Linked DNA regions of Homo sapiens: regions 2, 3 and 4 are each linked to region 1. The links are contacts of gene promoters, found by promoter capture Hi-C in blood cells and fetal thymus (Javierre and others, 2016). All regions are on one chromosome and are shown on one strand. Each heading gives the region's core, a stretch centred on a gene start or on the middle of the fragment in contact. The rest is flanking DNA. Distances are from core to core; before and after follow the strand shown.

Region 1 (5,768 bases), core at 1,980-4,479:
CATAAATAAAAAAGAAATTTCACTCTCCTCTCTTCATTTCCATGTACCCAGAAAGTAGGTGAACACCTAACTGCAAATCACTTGTCCCTTCATTAGTCCACCTCTAAGACAGGGTGTAAATGCATGAAGCGATAGTACAACAAAATAAAGCAGTTATGACAGACCTAAAGAAACTCATAAATCATTCTGTTCAACTCCCCACAGTCGTTTTATAGACACTGCAGGCATAGAGAAAAAATAAATCACTGATTAGGGCTCCAGATCAACCAGAACCCAAGTCTCCTTATTTCCAAGGCAGAAATATGCCACAGCACTAGGCTATAACATCTGTCACTTTAGGATAAGCAAAGGTTGCATGGATCTTTTTTGTAGTTTTAACTGGAGAATCAAAAAGGACAACTATAGGTCTGAAAAAGTGAGGGGGGTGGGCTGGCAATACCTGAATTCAACTACTACTAATAAAAATCCCATAAATCTTAAACAGCATTTTTAACAGTGCAATTGGCCTCTTTAAGAAGTCACAAAATGTTTTCACAGCTTTTTCATTTATTATGTGTGGCATCAGAATCAAGTTTCCCAATCCCTGCTTCAAGGATTCTAGATTCTTCTCCCAAGCAAAGAAAAAGACATTCCATTCACCCATCTCCTTTCCAAGGAGGTGCTCTCCTGGGGCTATCCCAATGTTCCTCCCAAGTCCAATTCTTCCAGGTACTCTGCGGATATTGACAAAGCTGATCCCAACACTCCTGAGTCATACTAGGGATCCCAGCTCCTCCCCTTCAATTTTCTTACCATGTCTTTTTCCTTAGAAAGGTGTATTGAATTGTTTTTATATAGTCTATTGTACTCTATTAACTAGTAGTTAATTTTAGGTTCTAAGAATAAAATGTTATATAAGAACTATGTGTTATTATAATACTTTGATTTAGTTATACATATAAATACATATGTATATATGTACATATATGTGTATATATACACACACACACACACACATATAAATAATCTATTAGATGCTAAGCTGTAGGGGGTTAGCGGGAGACAATACATGGGAATGCTTTCTGGTGATTCTCTTCTCCAAAAGACAGTATGATTCCCAGGTATTAGATGTGTTAGTATCAGATAAAATATCCAGTGGAGCACATAAAATGAAGCAAGACTGAAAATGCACCATAGGAGAAATAAATTCTAAGAATGTAACACTTCGTTAGACAACTGGAAAGTACAAGGCCAATATGCTTAGTAGTTAGAAATGTTGCCCACCTCCAAGAAAACAAAGGATTGACCCGACATGCAGTGGAAGAATGCCAACAAGAAACTTGTTAATCAGTGGCTGATCTCATCTTCACCAGAAAATCTGCTTGAGAGGCATAATATAACGCTGTTTGTAAACCCTGATATCTGTCAAAAGTGCCCTAAGGTCCTCCTCTCTAGCTCCACCACTGCCCCTCACTTAAAAAAATAAAATTACCTTTAATGATAGGGTTTAACAAGCTGCCTTCTTTTTTTCTGTTATGAAAACCTCAACAGCAAATAATTTTTATTTCTTTTTATTAAAGAAAGCAACTCTATATTTGTTCTAAATCTCATGGGACCAGTTATTTTCACCCAAACGGCCAACCAGGTATATACGCTGCTTAACTGTAAACCTCCTTGTTTCTTAGCAGAGGCTTATCGCCATGGTCCAACTATGTTTTAAATTAAGGCATAGCCATCACATGCCAAGCTCTAGCTACTGTTTTCACGAGGAAAGGGCAATTATTCACCCCATCTGAGTGTGACTGTGCCAGACATCATTCAAGAGTGCACCACCCTGATCCCTAGACTCTTCCCCTTTATGCACCCAGTTCAGAGACCCTCCCTTCGGCCATTAGACCATCTGAGCTAAATATAGATCTACACACACCAGCAGTTCCTGACCGTCGTCACATGGTGCTGACGAAGGACTCCTTGGAGACGCGTTCGGCCCAAACACATACACAAATTTGTGTGCATATTCATCTATATACACCATATCCACCGAATTCATCAGGGAGGATGGACACATCTACATTCCGAAGAGAAAATCGCCGTCTAGACAATCTCCTTGTGTTATCTGCCACACTTGTGCCACCCTCGGCAGTGTCAGAGGATTAAGCTACGTTGCTTTTGCCTGAACTGCGCCGATTTGGTTGGGGCAAGACAGCAAGCAGTATTGAAATGGTACGTCCATACACACACACAAAGGCGCGCGCACCCCAGCCCCCGTCTCGCCCTTTTCCCTGGTGCAGCACTTAAGTTGTTTTCACAGCTCCCTTAGAAAGAACCTCCCTTAAGCTGACTGCCCGCGAGGCTCCTAGATACCTCTAGCTCATCTGAGATTCCCCAGGCAGGTGACCCGAGGCGACTCAACTGAGCTCTGGCAAAAGCAAGGCGACTCAGTGTCTCCCAAGTTTGCCAGGTGAACACCGAAGGATGACAGCACATCACCTTGTCGGTGGCGAGTATGTGACTTCTGTTCCCTTGTCCCTTCCTACGAGTCAGACTTTAGATTACATGGCACTGACAACAAAAATAAACAGCTCCCCCTACACACACACGCACACAAAACTGGTCAAGAAGTGGAAGAATCAACCTAGGTATGCACACGAAGGAAAGAAGGGATGAAAAAAATGATGGACGCGATTACAACTCAAGACAAATCCTCAAAAACCACCTATCTCGAGACAGAAGGCCTGGCTGCAGGATCAGGGAGAAAGAGGGAAGGCACAACCCAACCCAACCCAAGCCTGGCCCTGCCCGGGTCCCAGCGGCTCGGCCTCGCACCTGTTGGGGCCGCGGCAGTCCCAGGTACCCGCAGCGGCCGGGCAGGGGCCCTCCCCCGGTCCCGGGCTGTAACTCGGCTCTTGGCGCCCGCGTTCGCGCTCACTCGCCTCGGGATCTCCCGCCGCCTCGGAGCGCACCCGGCAGCCGGTGAAGTCTCTGAGCCCCGCTCGCTCCCCGCGCGGCCCAGGGATCTCCAGGGAGAGCGCAGCGCGCAGTAGGGTCCGGAGTTCCCGCTCCGGGCTGTGGTCCCCCAGCCGGGAGAACAACCCAGCCAGGGAACAACCTACCTGCAGGTGAACTCCGAGTCCTCGGCCTCCCGGCTGCGTGCCGCGCGCCCACAAATGCGACCAAAGGACAGGGAGCTAAAGCGCGCGGGAAGAAGAAAAACAAAATCTGTCTAACCAGTCGGGTTCCTTGTTTATACTGAAACTACGGCAGCCGCCGCCGCGCACGCCCCCCTTGGCTCAGGCGCCTGCCTCCCGCTGCCAGCCCCGCCCCGCCCCGGCAGGCGCGGGCCAATCACCGCGCAGCTCACCGCCCACGCCGCCGCCACCCGGCCCGGCAGGCAAGTCCCAGTGGGCCCCAGACTCCCGCAGCGCGTCAGCCTGGGTGCCCTCCCACGCGGCAGAGGCCCGCGGAGCCCAGCGCAGCGGTGTTTAACAGCGTTGGTCAGGCTGGCTCCGACTGTGCGCGTTTCCTCTTGAGTGCACCTGCCCCGGGCTGTTGTGCAGTCGTGAGTGTGTGTGTGTTCATTCACGTGTATACTATCTGTAAATACCGGCCCGACTCGTTACACAGTATTTATTAACATAATTGTGAGCTAAAGGTTACTGTCCATGTAACTTTCAGAAGAGAGCGGAGAGGAACCACAGAACATTTGCTTAGCAAATAACACATAGATCCTGGTGCTAAGCACTGTGCAAAACGCTGGGGGCACACTTGGCAAAGTAGGCTGGTCTCTGCCATTGTGAAACTTACATAGTCTAGTGGAGGACAGACATTCAGCAAATAATCACCCAAACAAAATGTAGAATTACAGCTGCTAGAAGTTGCACGGAGAGGAACCTGTTCCGTGAAACATGATTCCGGAGGCAAAGCAGGGAGGCTAGTCCTCAGTGAGGGCTGTGTTGTCATGGTAACCACGTACTCACTCCATCATGGGATATTTGATAACTATTTCAGAAAAAAGGTAAAAACCTCCGTACTTCACTTTGTACACATAAAAGGAGGCCAGAGGGAAATAATGATGGAAACAAGGGAAGAAAGAGACCTATGAAAAGAAAAAATTTACAGAATTAGGAGACTCTTACCAACTGTATTTCCTTGAGTAAGTGATACAGCTTTTCTGAGCTTCAGTTTTCTCATATATAAAACAACACTATTCATACCTGTCCTATACTGTTATAATTAAGATTACTGAGGGGGAGGAATCCTTTTCCCTCCTGCTCCATGGGTCCCTCCCCCTCTCCTTCCTGGGGTGGAGTCATTTTGACGCTCACTTTGTCTATTCTTAGCGGATTCCTCTTTCATTTTCTTCATTTATGCCTCCTTTTACTTTTCTTCCTCTTTATGATACTCCTTCCCTCCTTTGTGTAAATAGGACTCCTCTGATTCAGTAATTCACTCTAACCTACTTGAGCCTTTGACTTAACCATAGCTTCTCTGCAGTTTAAATGAGAAGCCATAAGGCCAAGGGAACTTGGTGGGCCAGCCATGCAGAGTGAAACACAGAGGCTGGGTGGCCCTGCCCTGCTGTTGTGGTTGTACTGGTTGGTTGATTTTTCAAGCTCAGTTTTTGCATCCCGATTCTGTAACAAACGAGCCATATGACATTGGGCCAGTCACTTACACCCTTGACATTACTGATCCTGTAGCCAGAAATTAAGAGTTGCAGGGGATTGCTGGCAAGATGGCTGAATAGGAACAGCTCCAGTCTGCAGCTCGTAGCGAGATTCACACAGAAAGCATGTGACTTCTGCATTTCCAACTGAGGTACCCAGTTCATCTCACTGGGACTGGTTGGACAGTGGGTGCAGCCCACGGGGAGTGAGCTGAAGCACGGTGGGGCATCGCCTCACCCGAGAAGTGCAAGGGGTTGGGGAATTTTCTCCTCTACCCAAGGGAAACCATGAGGGACTGAGCCTGAGGAACTCCAGCACAGATACTGTGCTTGTGCCAGTTTTCGCAACCCACAAACCAGGAGATTCCTTCCAGTGCCTACCCCACCAGGGCCCTGGGTTTCAAGCACAAAACTGGGTGGCCATTTGGGCAGACACCGAACTAGCTACAGGAGTTCTTTTTTTTTCCATACCCCAGTGGCGCCTGGAACACCAGCGAGACAGAACCGTTCACTCTCCTAGAAAGGGTTGCTGAAGCCAGGGAGCCAAGTGGTCTGGCTCAGCCGGTCCCACCCCAATGGAGCCCAGCAAACTAAGATCCACTGGCTTGAAATTCTCACTGCCAGCACAGCAGCAGTCTGAGATCAACCCAGGACACTCGAGCTTGGTGGGAGGAGGGGCATCCACCATTGTTGAGGCTTGAGTAGGCAGTTTTACACTCACAGTGTAAACAAAGCCTCTGGGAAGTTGGAACCGGGCAGAGCCTACTGCAGCTCAGCAAGCCTGCTGTGGCCAGACTGCCAAATTTCCCTTCTCTGGGCAGGGCATCTCTGAAAAAAGGCAGCAGCCCCAGTCAGGGACTTATAGATAAAACGCCCGCCTCCCTGGAACAGAGCACCTGGGGAAAGGGGCGGTTGTGGGCGCAGCTTCAGTAGTCTTAAACGTCTGCCTGACAGCTCTGAAGAGAACAGCAGATCTCCCAGCACAGCGTTCAAGCTCTGCTAAGGGTCAGACTGCCTCCTCAAGAGGGTCCCTGACCCTCGTGTATCCTGACTGGGGGACACCTCCCAGTAGGGGCTGACAGACACCTCCTACAGGAGAGCTCTGGCTGGCATCTGGCAGGTG
Region 2 (5,291 bases), core at 691-3,190, 580 kb after region 1:
GGCACAAGGGAAACTGTACTAAATACTAATTGAATTTTTTTAAGTCTTTAGGCTGACTCTGGGCACGCTGCCTAGGAGTTAGCCCTGCTCTGCAAGGAGCAGCTATTAAATATGTATGTATGAAATATATATATTTAACTGAACCTGGTGATTTTTACTGAGCAGATGCATTTTCTTGTGGTGACAGTCATCTTAAGAGGCTATACATTACTTGCAATCTAGACTCATTCCTTTGATGGTTTCTTTCTCCCCATGCCCTCTCCTCTGTGATGTCTTGCATCTTGTAGAGGAAATAAACATGTCTGAAAGCAGCAACCCACTGAACAGCAAGAGCATTGCCCAGACTTTCTCCAGGGCATGCCCAGGCCTGAATCACTACCATGTCTATTTCTTCCTGTCATTGGTAGAGCAAGGACAGAGACCCAGGACAAAAAAGAAAAGAAAGGAAAGCAAACCAAAAAATAATCTTATCATCTATGGTCTTTCCCCACTTAGGACTGTGACTGCAGTATCATTTACTGGAAGCGTTGTTCATACTTTTTTACCCAGTATTTCCATTTGTAGAATTTATCCTAAGAAAATAATCAGAGAATCGCTCAAACATTTTTGCATTTACAATTGTGTCTTGTCTGTAAGGGCAAGTGAGTGTCTTTTCTACTGACACAGTAACCACCATGGTTCAAAGGCTAGGACTGAACTCAGGCTGCCTGGGCTTGAATTCTGGCTCTGCCAATTGCCAGTTGAGTGATCTTGGGCAAGTCACTTCAATTCTCTAAGCTTCCATTTCCTCATCTGGAAAACAAGGATAATAATACCTCATAAGAACTTAATTAGGTAATATTATTATACTCACTTATTAGAATGATTCATATAATTATTATATGAATACTAATAGAGGACCTGGTCCATACTACATAATAGTAATACGTTAACTCTGACTAGGGTGATGATTAATGATATATCCTCAGCTCATGGCCCAAAGCCTGGCACACAATACTCAATAAAAATTGTTTAAATACATGGACAAACAGATGGACAAACAAATGAACAGGGATACTTGTTACAGCATGATAAAGCTAAAATTTGTAAACCATAAAAACAACAGGAGAGTGGCTTAATATACCATGGTACATATAATCAAAACCTAGTATGTTTTAAAAGAATAATTAATGACCTAGAAAATGCCTGTAGGTAATGTTAGTAGGGGGCAGCATACAGTATATGTAGCATATTCTAAATTTATAAAATACTTACATGGTACGCATACATTAGGACCAAAATGGAAGGAAATACACCAAAAGGCAATAATAGTTCTCTGTAAGTGATGAAATTATGGATTATTTTTATTTTCTTCTTTATATATTCCTTAATTTTCTAGATTCTCTGCAGTAAACGTGAGTGTAATACCAATTTAAATACTTTTTACAATTCCATAATTAAGAACTTAGACTTTTTTTAGTCATCATGTTAATCTTAATTGATTTAAGATCTTATCACTTTAATAAAACATTTAGGATGGACCAATTAACACAACTAAATCTACTGCACTGACACTCTCTTGAAGAAATCTCTGGTGCTTGTGAAAAGGTTCTACAAAACATCATCCAAAATTTGATTTTAAAGACACTCACCATTGCTGCTAAGAGCCAATAGTTATCAACAATAGCCTTAATAACTAGAAATGGGAAAGTCTTAAGAGGCAAGTGAAATCTATGTTTAAAACATACTTATTTTCTCATCTCATTTAGTTTACAAGAGAATGTAGAAGTTGAAGAATCAACCTTTGGAAATTGTCATTTGCCCAGAATGATTAATTCTGGGTAATTTATGCCTGCCAAGTAATAAAGAACACTGCTTTCATTTACCCGGCTTCCTTTGTGGGTCTTAGAGGGAGATCCCATGTTAGTTATTGTAAACTCAGTACTTCAGTATGGTCAGGAAATAGAGCAGTCTGATTAACCAACTATTCTGACTAATTATCATCTCTGCAACATATGAATTACCACTTTCCAAAAAATTAGGCTGTCATAAATTGCAATTAACATTGAAGGTCTACCAAAGGTAGATGATTCAGAAGGCACCTCAGTGTCTCTCAGGGTGTCAGGTTCACCACTATAAAAATCATGTATCCCAGTAGGATGGATGAGGAAAGATGTTGGTTAATAGGAATTTTCAGTTGAGAGAAATGCAAGCAAGCCAGGTTTTACTATGTTTACAAGGTTGAATGAATGTCTGTTGAGCTCTTTAAGCACCTCCTGAGAAAGGCACTCTATTTGTGTGAGATGTTATAATTATTATTCCACAGAAATACAATGGTAACATTCTATTTTACAACAAAGAAAATTAGATTACAAGTTATCCTACAATTCTCCCTCCTCCCAGCTAAGATCACACACCGTATAGAGTTACAATGGTGCCAATTACAACAGCTTTTCATGCATTGTATGTTGCTCTGGTTTTTGATGATCTGAATGGATTTCATACCTAATAGCAGCTACTGACAGCAATCAAAACAATTTGGGGGAAAACAGTTTTGTCTTCTGTGTTCAAGTAATGCTATTGATTTAAATTTAATGTTTGCTTCATTTCTTTCTTGGTACAGTAAGCAAGCATGTGGTGTCTGTCTGGGCCCCCATTCTGCCTAAGAATGTGGGTGGCAAAGCCTATGTATACCAGGCCTTTTCTATCACTAGTTGCTAGAAGCCAATATCCATTAAAAAGAGAGTGTTTTTAAGATCATTTCATCAAATGCCCACTACATACACATTCATTCATTCTCACTCTCTCTCTCTCTCTCTCTGTCTCATATCCCAGTTTACAGTTGAAGAATCAGAGGCACAGAGAAGTTAAGTTTTTTGACCAAGTTTACACAGCTACTATATTGGTCGAGCTGGGGCCAGATTCTAAATCTCCTGATAGATAGCACATGCTCTTTCCATTGAGTCATTGCCCCAGCACCATGCTGGACTGAGACTTTGACTGAAAAATGAACTTTTCTCTGAACAAGGTGAAAAAAAAAGAGAAAAGAAGGAAGGGAAAGACCAATGAAGGAAGGGAAAAGAACTCAGCATCATGGATTCAGGGTACCACTCCCACATCACAGCCAAGCTTACTCCTTTTATATAACAATTTGAGGTCCTGGCACAGTAAGCCACCTAAGTTTCCTTAGTTGAAACACTATAATAGGACTCCCTGGGAGAATCTTTGCAGTATATCTTGAAACTGATGACCAGAGCTTCTTTAATGAGCAAACAGATAGACCTAACCTTTCCACCCCTGCTCTGGCTGTCCTGGATGGGAAGGAGACATTCTCTAATATGGAAAAGATCCAAGATGCAGGTCAGTCTAATCAGCTAATGGTCAGCACCAAAGGAGGTTAGGCTGTTTAAGGAGTTAAGTCATTCAGTGTGATGCCAGTTCCCTCCTAATCCAGCCCTGGAGGAAACTTGTATTATGACTCACAGGAGAGGCACAGCCTGGAGAAAATGAGCCCAAAGAAACTGAAGAACACTGAAAACTTACAATATTACTGATGTGATAATAGACTAAGAGAATAAGGCACCCGTCTCGTCAGTTTGGGACTTGATGTAAGAGTCATTGTGCTGTGGCAAAGGGCCTGGTTCACCACAGTGATGGTGGGAGTGCCTGGGCCAACACTAGTGACAATGAGGAGACTGGTACTATGTGACAACAACAAAACCCACAGTGGCATCAAGGCTATGCCACCCCCTTAGGAACCACAGCTCAAGAGTGGAGAGCCAATGTTCACTTGGGCAGGAAGTAAAGCATCAATCTGGAGCCCTTGGAGCCAAATGCACCAACAGGCAGCAGTGAGTAGGATCATAGCTAGATAGCAGGTAAGGAAGCATCAGAGCCAGGACTCTGCACTTCCAAGTGAGCAATGGTGGCTGCAGAGATCAAAGAGCATAAAGGTCACAGGCAATGGAGCAGAGAGAGGGAGCCAGCTTCTGTAAAGCAGAGCCGCAGCAGGTATAGTGCTGAACAGTGAGCTAGCCTGGGTCCTCTATGGGAAACCTAAAGATCAAAAAAATCACCCAGAAGGGACGTGAGGCAAATACCAATTTTATTTGCATTTCATTGCTTCCACCCCTTCTTGGACTGGCCCACCATCCTAACAGTCCACATGAGAGGAAACTGGGACAAGTAAATGCACAGGCTCTTGGCTCTGGCCAGATCAGATCCACCCCATCCCCTAAACTTTGGCTCAGTCTCAGTTCTCCCTATCTGCAGAGGTCCAGATCTGCTCTGTGTTTGATACTCGGTGAGATTAAAGAATTCTAGACAAGGTCACCCCTTTGTCACCATTGATAGAGGGCTCTATCAGTCTCACAACAAATATAGGTCAGAAATGACTGGAGTCAGACCAAATCTAAACACCTGAGGGTGTTGGGGAGTGAGCAAGGATAATCCTGCACCAGCCTGAAAAGGAGAGACAGTTCCCACCCAACCACATACCTCCAGGAGTTCTATAGCAGCCAGATATTTAAACCAAAGCTTTTTCTTTTATACTATTTCTGTTTTCTCGTTCTTCAGCACCTCTCAATTCTCCATGGGCAGAGGTGTGTTTCAGTCATCTTCCAGAGCCAAACAGAACAAGTCATGATCTGGAATCAACAGGTCCATTTTTCCCCATGCTTCATTTCTGTAGCATTATAATAACAGTAACAATAGCCAGCATGCTACTACGTGGGAGGCACTGTGCTAAGCCCTCTACATATACTATTATGCAATTATTACAATTGATCATGTCATCAACTCCTTTGGGTGATACCTTCATAATCCCTACTTTACAACTGAGGAAAATACAGCATGACATGCTGATTACCTTCCCAGGGTCACAGAGCTAGGAAGACATGGAGCCTGAATAGGCATCCAGGCAGTCCTCCATACCCACATCCTCACCTGGCATCCCATCATCCTTAGACTAGAAGAGCAGCAAGGGATCAGGCTCTCTCAGCCTCACCATAGGGTGAGAGGGAAATATGGAATGAGTTTAAAGAGGAAGCAGTTTTAATTATGCACTGTCTAATGCAAAACCATGCCAATTTTGCTGACAGAATAAAAATAAGCAGACCTGAAGAATTTTGATCCCTATGCCCTTAAGCCTTCACAAGAAAGTATTCCAAGTTTACTTCACTGTTGTCACGCCTGCCCACACCTGCTTGCTGAATAATGCTAGGAGAATAGCAGTGGTATCCCCACCCAACTTTCATGTAAATTAAAGAGTTTTCCAAATTCTGCTACCAAATTTTTCTAACCTAAGTGAGATT
Region 3 (5,383 bases), core at 1,676-4,175, 730 kb after region 1:
ACTGGAAAATACTTCAGAGTCTCTCAACAGCATAATTGATCAAGCAAAAGAAAGAATTAATGAATTTGAAGACAGGCTATTTGAAAATATACAGTCAGAGGATAAAAAAGATTAAAAAAAGGAATAAAATATGCTTACAAGATTTAGAAAATAGCCACAAAAGGGTAAATCTATGAGTTATTAACCTTAAAGAAGAGGTAGAAAGAGAGATTGGGGTAGAAAGTTTATTGAAAGAAATAATAACATAGAACTTTCCTAATTTAGAGCAACATCAGTATTCAGGTACAAGGTCATAGAACATTAAGCAGATTTAACCCAAATAAAACTACTTCAAAGCATTTAATAAACAAAACTCCCAAAGGTCAAGGATAAAGAAAGAACCTTAAAAACAGCAAAAGAAAAGAAATCAATAACATATAAAGGCGATCCAATACATCTGGCAGCAGACTTCTCAATGGGAATCTTGTAGGCCAGGAAAGAATGGTATGACATATTCAAATTGCTGAAAGAAAAAAGAAAACTTTTATCCTAGAATATTATATCTAGCAAAAATCCTTCAAACATGAAGGAGAAAAAAAAATACTTTCCCAGACAAAAGATGATAGATTTCATTGACACCAGACATGTCCTACAAAAAATGCTAAAGAGTATTCTTCAACCTGAAAAAAAAGGACAATAATGAGCAATAAGAAATCATCTGAAGGTATAAAACTCATGAGTAACAGTAAGTACACAAAAAAAACAGACTACTGTAACATTATAATTGTAGTGTTAAACCACTCATATCTTGAGTAAGACAAACCAATCAAAAATAATAACTATAACAACTTTTTAACAGGTAGATAGTATTGAAAGATAGAAACAGTGAAAAGTTAAAAAGTTTTGGAGGGATGGTGTTAAAGTGCAGAGTTTTTATTTGTTTTCTTTTTGCTTGTTTATTAGTGGAGTGTGGTTTTTTGGGGTTTTTTTTTGTTTGTTTTTTGTTTTGGTCATCAGAGTTAAGTTGTCATCAGTTTAAAATAATGGGTTATAAAATGTTTTTTGCAAGCAAGCCTCATGGTCACCTAAAATCAAAGACCTACAGCAGATAGATTAAAAATAAGAAATTAAAACATACTACCAGAGAAAATCACTTTTACACAAAGGAAGACAGGAAGAAAGGAAGGCCACAGAACAAACAGAAAACAAATAACAATGGCAGTAGTAAGTCCTTAACTATCAATAATGACATTGAACGTAAATGAACTAAACTCTCCAATCAAAAGACATAGAGTGGCTGAATGGATAGAAAAATAAGACCTCAACTATATGTTGTTTACAAGAGACTCACTTCACCTATAAAGACACAGACTGAAAATAAAGGGGTGGAAAAAACATATCCCATGCAAACGGAAACCAAAAAAGAGCAGGAGTAGCGATACTTATATTAGATAGTGTAGATCTTAAGACAAAGAAGGTTATCATATAATGATAGAGGGGTCAATTCAGCAAGAGGATATACCAATTGTAAATATATATGCACCCAACAATGGAGCACCCAGATATATAAAGAAAATATTATTAGTGCTAAAGAGAGAGATAGGCCCCAATACAATAATAGCTGAAGATCTCAACAACCCACTTTCAGTATTGGACAGATCATCCAGACAGAAAATAAACAAAGAAATATCAAACTTAATCTGCACTATAGACTAAATGCACCTAATAGATATATTTACAGAACATTTCATCCAACAGCTACAGAATGCACTTTCTTCTTAGCACATGCATCATTCTCAAGGACGTGCCATATATTAGGCAAAAAAACAAGTCGTTAAAAACTCACAAAAATTGAAATCTTTCACCTGATCTTTGCCTGGTATTTACAAAAAAGAAAAGAAAATTGAAATAAAATGAAGTATATTCTCTGCTCACCATGGAATAAAACTAGAAATCAATTACAAGAGAAACTTCGGAAACTATATGAAAACATGACAATTAAACAGTATGCTCCTGAATGACCAGTGGATCAATGAAGAAATTAAGAAGAAAATTGAAAAATTTCTTGAAACAAATGAAAATGAGAACACAACATATTAAAATCTATCAGGTATAGCAAAGGCAGTACTAAGAGGAAAGTTTATAGCAAATAAGTCCCTACATCCAAAAAGTAGAAAAACTTCAAATAAATAACCTAATAATACATCTTAAAGAACTAGAAAAGAAAGAGCAAATCAAACCTAAAATTTATAGAAAAAAAGAAATAATAAAGATCGGAGAAGAAATAAATGAAATTGATAGCAAAAGAATAATACAAAAGACCAATAAAATGCAAAGTTGGTGTTTTGAAAAGATAAGTGAAATTGAAAAACCTTTAGCAAAACTAACTTAAATAAGAGAGAAGACCCAAATAAATAAAATCAGAAATAAAAGAGAAGACATTACAACTGATAGCACAGAAATTCAAAGAATCATTGGAGGCTATTATGAACAACTATATGCCAATAAACTGGAAAACCTAAAAGAAATGGATAAATTTCTGGGCACATACAACCTACTGATTGAACCATGAAGAAATCCAAAATCTGAATAGGCCAGTGACAAGTAATGAGATTGAAGCCATAATAAAAAGTCTCCTAGCAAAGAAAATCTCAGGACTCAATGGCTTAACTACTGAATTTTACTAAACATTTAAAGAAGAACTAACACCAATCCTACTCAAACTATACCAAAAAAAAAAAAAAAGTGAAGAGGAGGGACTATTTCCAAACCCATTCTACAAGGCCAGTATTACTGTGATACCAAAATCAGACAAAGACACAAGAAAAAAGAAAACATCAGGCCACTATCTCTGATGAACATAGATAAAAATTTCTCAAGAAAATTCTAGCTAACCAAATACAACAACATATTTAAAAGATCATTATCATGGCCAAGTGGGATTCATCCCAGAAATGCAAAGATGGTCCAAGATATGCAAATCAATTAACATGATATGTCATATAAACAGAATATGATCATTTAAATTATCATTATCAAATAATAATATCATTTCAATTGATGCTGAAAAAACATTCAGTAAAATTCAATATCCATTCATGATAAACACTCTAAAAAAATGGGCAGTGACGGAACATATCTTAACACAATAAAAGCCATATATGACAGACCCACAGCTAGTATCATACTAAACAGGCAAAAACTGAAAGCCTTTCCTCTGAGATCTGGAACAAGACAAGGATGCCCACTCTCACCATTGTTATTCAACATAGTACTGGAAGTCCTAGTTAGAGCAATCAGACAAGAGAAAGAAATAAAGGGGATCCAAATTGGAAAGGAAGAAGTGACATTATCCTTACTTGTAGATGATATGATCTTATATTTGGAAAAAACTTAAAGACTTCACAAAAAAGTATTAGAATTGATAAATAAATTCAGTAAATTTGCAGGATACAAAATCAACATACAAAAATCAGTAGCATTTCTTTATGCCAACAGTGAAAAATCTGAAAAAAGAAATCAAGAAAGTAATCCCATTCATAATAGCTACAAATGAAATAAAATATCTAGCAATTAACCAAAGAAGTGGAACATTTCTACAATGAAAACTATAAAACATTAATGCAAGAAACTGAAGAGGACACCGAAAAATGGAAAGATATTTCATGTTCATGTATTAGAATAATCAATAGTGTTCAATTGTCCATACTACCCAAAGCAATCTGTAGATTCAGTCAATCCCTATCAAAATACAAATGACATTGTTCACAGAAATAGAAAAGATAATCCTAAAATTCATAATAACCACTAAAGACCCAGAATAGCCAAAGCTATCTTGAGCAAAAACAATAAAACTGGAGGAATAGCATTATCTGACATCAAATGATACTACAAAGCTATAGTAGCCAAAACAGTATGGTAGTGGCATAAAAACAGACAAATAGACCAATAGAACAGAAAGCACAGAAATAAATCCACGCATCTACAGTGAGCTCTTTTGACAAAGATGCCAAGAACATTCATTGGAAAAAGGACAGTCTTCAATAAAAGGTACTGGAAAAATTGGATGTCCACATGCAAGAGAATGAAACTCTCGCCATATACAAAAATCAAATTAAATGGATTAAAGACTTAAATCTAAGACTTTAAACTATGAAGCTACTAAAAGGAAACATTGGGGAAACTCTACAGGACATTGATCTGGGCAAAGATTTCTTTAGTAATACCTCAAAAGCACAGGCAACCAAAGCAAAAAAGGGACAAATGGGATTACATCAAGTAAAAAGGCTTCTGCACAGCAAAGGAAACAATCAACAAGGTGAAGAGACAACTCACGGAATGGGAGAAAATATTTTCAAACTACCGATTTGACAGGGGATTAATAACTAGAATAAATAAGGAATTCAAACAACTCAATAAATAATTTGATTTAAAAATGGGCAAAAGATCTAAACAGACATTTGTCAAAGGAAGACATAAAAATGGCAGACAGGTATATTATAAAATGCTCAACACCATTAATAATTAGGGAAATGCAAATCAGAACCACAATAAGATATCATCTCACCCCAGTTAGAATGGTTATCAAAAACTAATAACAAATGCTAGTGAGGATATGGAGAAAGAAGAAGCCTCATACACTGTTGGTGGAATGTAAATTAGTATAGCCACCATGGAGAACAGTATGGAGTTTCCTCAAAACACTAAAAAAAGAGCTACCGTATGATGCAGCAATCCCACTGCTAGATTTATATCCAAAAGAGAGGAAATCAGTATATCGAAGAGACACCTACACTCCCATGTTTATTGCAGCTCTATTCACAATAACCAAGATTTACAATCAACCTAAGTGTTCATCAGTCAATGAACAGATAAAGAAAATGTGGCACATATTACAAAATAGAATATTATTCAGCCATAAAAAATAATGAAATCCTGTCATTTCATGTCAGTTTCATGGATGGAAATGGAGGACATTATGTTAAGTGAAACAAGCCTGGCACAGAAAGACAAATTTCACATATTCTCACTCATTTGTGAGAACTAACAATTAAAACAATTGAACTCATGAAGCTATAGAGCAGAATGATCATTACCAGAGGCTGGGCAGGGTAACATGGGGGTGAGGGGAAATGGAGTGGGGATGATTAATGTGTACAAAAAATACATAGATAGAATGAATAAGATCTATTATTTGATAGTATAACAGGGTGACTAAAGTCATTAATAATTTACCGTGTATTTAAAAATAACCAAAAGAATAGAATTTGAATGTCCCTAACACAAGGAAATGATAAATACTTGAGGTGATGGATATTCCATTTACTCTGATGTGTTTCTTACATATTGTATGCCTGTATCAGAACATCACATGTACCCCATTAATATATACAGCTATTATATT
Region 4 (5,457 bases), core at 324-2,823, 650 kb after region 1:
GAACCAATCAAATGAGCATCTAGAAACATCTAGTAAAATAAACTATGATATATTCATAGAGCATACTACTGTATACAGTAAAGACTAGTAGATTTTTATGTAGCGATGTAAAAAGAGGTCTAAAATTCAACATTAATTAACAAAATAATTAACTGCAGAATATTACATTCGGTATTATCTCATGTATCTATAGAGGAGGTGTTTTAAGGGATATTCTCTATTTTTGTGCATATGTAGAAACTTTCTAAAAGGATACAAAAGAAACTATTTGGTAGAGTTCTTACAGTGTGAGAAGGCCACTGGTGGCCTTCTTAATTTTTTACCAAAATTACATATTACTTTCATAAGTGAGAAACCTACATCTAGTTTATTTTTAACTTCCAAAAGACAAGAAGCAATTCTTTTATGGCATTTGTTCAGTAATTTTTAAACATTTCACACATGGCGTATTGTAGACTTTGGTTGCTGAGTTTGTATTTGCCTATATCATCCCTAATGACATAATCATCCCTAATTTTGTCATTATCTAGGTAGAACCTTCTTACAGAACTACAGGTTTTATGAAACTGAACGTTCTTATGCAATTCTTGGCAATTCTGTTTGGGCCTTTCTAAAATATATGAGCCCACTTAACCAGTATCTTGCCTTTTCTTGAGAGAGAGAAAGACCGAGAAGAAAAAGAAAGAGGGGGTGAGAGGGAGGGAGGGGAGAGAAAGATAGAAATACAGATAGAAAGATGGATGGATGGAAGGAAAGAGAAAGGAAAGGGCGAAGGAAGGAAGGCAGGCAGGCAGGCAGGCGAGAAGGAGGAAGGAATTTTTGATTAACTAAAAAATTTAAATTCTTTCAGAAATATAAAATGAAATTAAAAGGCAAACAGCAGTTTGAGAAAAATATTTCCAACATAAATAAGGGATAAGTGATTTTATCGTTAATTAATAAAGAGCTACTACAAATCATTTTTCAAAGAAGTCTAACAACCCAATAGAAAAATAGGCTAAAGGTATAATTTCATTAGGAGAATACATGTGAAAAGATAATAGCATTTAAAAAAAATCTTCATCCTCTCTAGTTATCAAAGAAAATCAAGTTAAAACAATTAAATACGTTTTAACTATCAGATTAGCAAAGCTTTTTTAAATATAAGACCCAATATTGGTAAGAGTTCAGAAAATCGGGAACTTTTATTCACAGATAGTGGGAGATTAAAAGTATCCTAATCTTCCTGGCAGTCAATTTATAAATACATATTTTAAAATCCTCTAAAAGTACATCATTTTAGATGCTAAAAATCTACTAGGAATTTATCCAAGGATATTGCTTATCGTAGGATGCATGTATCAGACCGTTTACATAATCATTGGTACTTAAAGTGAAAAATAAAAACTGCAACCAATTAGAATTCCAATAAAGGAGCACAGATTAAACAAATATATATTAGTTATATAAATATATAAAATATTATCTTTTTTCCCACTTTTGTATAATGGACATTGTCTTAGTCCATTTTGTGTTGCTATAACAGAATGCCAAAGACTGAGTAATTTGCAAAGAAAAGAAATTTATTTCTTACATTTCTGGAGGCTGAGAAGTCCAAGGTCGAGAGGCCTGCATCTGGTGAGGGCCTTCTTGCTGCATCATCCGAGGGCAGCAGATAGAGAGCAAGAGAGCAGGCTCAAGAGCCAGAGAGTGAGAGGGGGCCAAACTTGCCTTTATAATAAAGCCTCTCTCACAATAATTAACCCACTCCTGCAATAATGACATTAATTCATTCATGAGGGCAGAGCCCTCAGGACCTAAGCACTTATTAAAGGTCCCACTTCTCAACACTGTTGCATTGGGGACTGTTCCCAACACATGAACTTCGGGGGACACATTTCAACCATAGCAGGCTTATATTAATTGGGTAATTGGATATATTGTTGAATTTTTGCAGTAAAAATTAAAACTTTCCATTTTCCAGTGATAAAACTTCTTTCCAAAGAAGGCCTATGAGAGAGGGAATCTAATTAATGGAAGCTTCTGCTTTAGCATGATTCCTAAGAATTAAGGTTTTATTACAAATAAAAATACAATCAATAAGTCATGAATACCTGTCAAGCAAAACCAAATACAGAAACTGCAAATGCAGTGAAACTTCATAGCTCAGAGGTTTGGTAATGAGATGTGAAGACCTCCACTTCCAGCAAAATTCCGTGTGTCCACCCCTAGTTGGTAATTTGAAGAAAAAGCCACATCTGTGTAGTGACATAAATTTTACTTCAAATGGATCCTGTAAACTCGAAAGTTCTTAGATTTCATCAATAAAATTGCACTCCTGCAAGACTAGTAAGGTGGAAGAGACGAAGAAGACATTCTTTTTTCTTGTTCTGGAAGCACTGGCAGACAAATACGTGAGTTTCACAGGTATGTTTATGCAGTGGCGTCTTTGTTTCCTTCCCATTTCAGCCCCTCAGCACTGAAGAAAGCTGTGAGGCCACTGGCCACATTCCTGCAGGTTCTTGATTCTTAGCTGCAACAGCTCTCTGCTTTTCTGTGGCAGTAAACCCGAAACTAATGTCAGTCTCCTTGATTTTCACTCTTCCAGTCTTTCCCATGGTTTTGTAAGCACCTCAATACCTTTATTAAATCTCTCCATATTTAAAATGCCTACAGGGGTTTTGTTATCCTGACTGAACCCCACCTGATCCAGCCTGGTTACAACCTGAAAGACTAATGTCACATTTCTGCATTAATGGCAGCTATCACAGTCTTGAAATGAAAGGACATAAGTGATCTCGGAATTTTCTTTAAAATGCCTTTAGAGGTGCTTAAAAGGCTTCTTCATAACTCTGTAATTGATTTAGAAAGGACTTGGGAAAAAACTCACAGAAAAGAAAAATCGACACATAAACATGAACATAAGGGATATTTTCTTGAACATAATAGGATATTTCCATGAACATAATAGGATATTTTCTTAGGCATTCTTAACCTGGAAGCAAAATGGTTGTTTAGCTGGAAAAAACCCTTACAGACTCCCTCTAGAGAAGACCAACATCAAATCAAAGTCAATACAAGCATTCTGGGTTGGCTAAATTATCCATGCAGGAAAATGCTCCTAAAATACCAGTTTCCCTCTGATCTGCTAACTGTCATGTCTTTCCGCTACTTTATGGCTCTTTTCCAAAGGATTTGCACCTGCCCCAGTCACTTCAAATCCTACTTCCTCCATGTGTTCCTTCTCCACCCAGTCACCCTAATTTCTTAGCATTTATTTGAATGTTCTAAGTGCTCCAGAAGCTACACATACCAAGAACCCCATCCAGTATTGTCAAAGAAGAATATATGCCACATACGTAAATGTTCTAATAAACTACAATGACAATGTTTTAATTCCAAGTACTTTGAAGAAAATCTAACGTGTTAAACTCTAATTTTTTAGGAAAAAAATCTGAGACAATAGCACATAGTTGAAAAAACATATGGCTTATTCTTCGAAGACTTAAACTGAAGTCTGAAATCTGCCACCTGGGTGACCTTGGTTAAGTAATTCAACTTCTCTGAAACTTCATTTTTCCTCTGTAAAATAGTGACAGTAATAATACAAGAAGCCACACATACCCTAGAGGGCAGTGGTTCTCAAAGTGTGGCCCCAGCCAGCAGCAGCAGAGTCGTGTGGGAAACTGTCAGGAAGACTGACTTGGGGCCCCACTTCAGACCTACTGAATCAAAAACTCAAGTTGGGAGGAGGTAGGGACAAGCAAGCAGCAATGTGTGTTTTAACAACTTCCAGGTGATTCTGATGGATGCTGCCATAGCGATTTTGCATTGATTTAATAAGACCATATACTGTAAAGAATTGTAATTTCTAAAAAGCTATGCAAACATGAGCTAGTAGCATTTTGACTATTAATTATTGTGCTATTTAATGTAGCACTGCTCAGAATGAAATGGCCTCAGACCATTGTGCTGAAGAACCAGAGAGAATTCAGAAGAAATGATTCTGCTTTCAAGAGTTCTTCTGTCCCCTCCCTCTGCTGTCAGCTGTCATTTCTCACCGAGGTCAGTGAGTCCTGCTGCTATCATCTGCTGCATTATACACACAGTAGTTCTGAGCAACCGCCTGAGGGCAATTCTGTCTTTCCTGTGGAATGAAGTCTCTAACCGTCTGCAGCTTCTAGCCTCCCTTACGACCCTTTTCCAACTCGTGTTCTGAATGTTTGAGGCCACCACCAGTCTGACCTCTGGGTAGGAGGAGATTTTATAGGATAATAACATATAGACACATCTTTTACATAGAAATATGTGTACATGTATAGCACCAAGCAGGGCCTGCTAACTTGTATGTTCACAATAAGAATTTTCAGTTGAAAAAATGAATGTGTGTGTTCATATCTCACAAAAGTGTGAGTATACTTCATCACTACACAACATATGCATGTAAAAAAGTCTTCACTTATATCCCCCAAATCTATTATAAAAAAATTTAAAAATTCAAAAAGTGTGAGGATATGGACAATATATGGTTTCACTCTGACATTTCCAATTCCTGTGGATTATCATGAGACCAAAAAGTATGGTTTAATCAGACAAGTCTATAAACACTTCTGGGAAAACAACACAAAGGGCAAGAGCTGATGGGAAGCCACTGGCGTCGTCTCCCCGGGGAAAGTGCAGCACTTTATACGTGTGCGGTAAAAGAGGAGAAAGCTCTCTGAAGCATTAAAAGCACTAAATAAATGAAGGTGCTGCTATTATTGATATGATTCCATCCCTACTGGGTACAGCAACTTTGCTTATGGAGTGTGGAGCCTGTTAGCTCCAGGCACAGGGCCTCTCCCACCCTGAGGTCAGGGTCCCTTTGAGACCCTGCTCACTGGCTCGACTCCCAGGGCTGTCCTGTGCTGTCCTCTGCAAAGGGTGGCACCTCCCCTCACAGCCTGTAAGGGCAACCCACCTCCCAAGAGAAATGCTTGCTACTTGCCTCTGACCTTGGCTTACCTTCTGCCCCACCATCTGCTCGATTTCCATAGCTTTCATTTGAAGCTTTAGGACTACATGACTGCCTCTTAGTCTATTGGCCACAGCCCCAAGCTTCACTCCCTGCATCTACAACAAAGAATCTTCATTCCTGTCCCTACCTTGGCCTCCCTGTGGTGACCCTCATGTCAGGTGAACAAGCACACCCAGCCCTGCACCCTCCATGGTGGCTGAGCACTCATCAGCCCACTTTCCTTAAATCAATAAATTGCCCATCAGCCAGGCCCATGTCCCCTGAGTACAGCCAGACTGAGCCCCTAAGACAAGCCATCCCTGGCCTTCTACGTACTATTAACTCTGTTGTGTAGCGGTCAGCAGACAGTGGGTGCTCAATTAATGTTGCTGTCTGCATAACATGGTAAGAGTTTAGAATGCTGATTCTCAACTAAAATCGGAAATCTGCTTGGGGAAAGCAAGTCAACACTCTCCTGAAAT

The links. The method cuts DNA at HindIII sites, captures the fragments that hold promoters and counts their contacts. A CHiCAGO score of 5 or more calls a contact.
Region 2: a contact is called between a fragment that was not itself captured here and the fragment with the promoter of RASGEF1B in region 1, in 1 of 17 cell types (erythroblasts). The highest score is 6.4, in erythroblasts.
Region 3: a fragment that was not itself captured here is called in contact with the fragment with the promoter of RASGEF1B in region 1 in 17 of 17 cell types (erythroblasts, megakaryocytes, total CD4 T cells and 14 more); the score reaches 18.6 in erythroblasts.
Region 4: a fragment that was not itself captured here is called in contact with the fragment with the promoter of RASGEF1B in region 1 in 1 of 17 cell types (erythroblasts); the score reaches 5.4 in erythroblasts.

Annotation. Positions count from the first base shown.
Region 1 is chr4:81,468,678-81,474,445 of GRCh38, forward strand. It overlaps RASGEF1B (RasGEF domain family member 1B), which reads right to left and starts at 3,230. Exons shown (of 14, transcript NM_152545.3): 1 at 3,093-3,230. RefSeq lists a silencer at 3,162-3,571. The HindIII fragment of the contact is 14,883 bases long and covers 1-5,768 here.
Region 2 is chr4:82,047,590-82,052,880 of GRCh38, forward strand. No RefSeq gene overlaps it. Among named protein-coding and RNA genes, the nearest start is that of HNRNPD, 320 kb to the right of the region's middle. The HindIII fragment of the contact is 2,331 bases long and covers 776-3,106 here.
Region 3 is chr4:82,202,647-82,208,029 of GRCh38, forward strand. No RefSeq gene overlaps it. Among named protein-coding and RNA genes, the nearest start is that of HNRNPD, 170 kb to the right of the region's middle. The HindIII fragment of the contact is 5,880 bases long and covers 1-5,383 here.
Region 4 is chr4:82,120,508-82,125,964 of GRCh38, forward strand. No RefSeq gene overlaps it. Among named protein-coding and RNA genes, the nearest start is that of HNRNPD, 250 kb to the right of the region's middle. The HindIII fragment of the contact is 888 bases long and covers 1,130-2,017 here.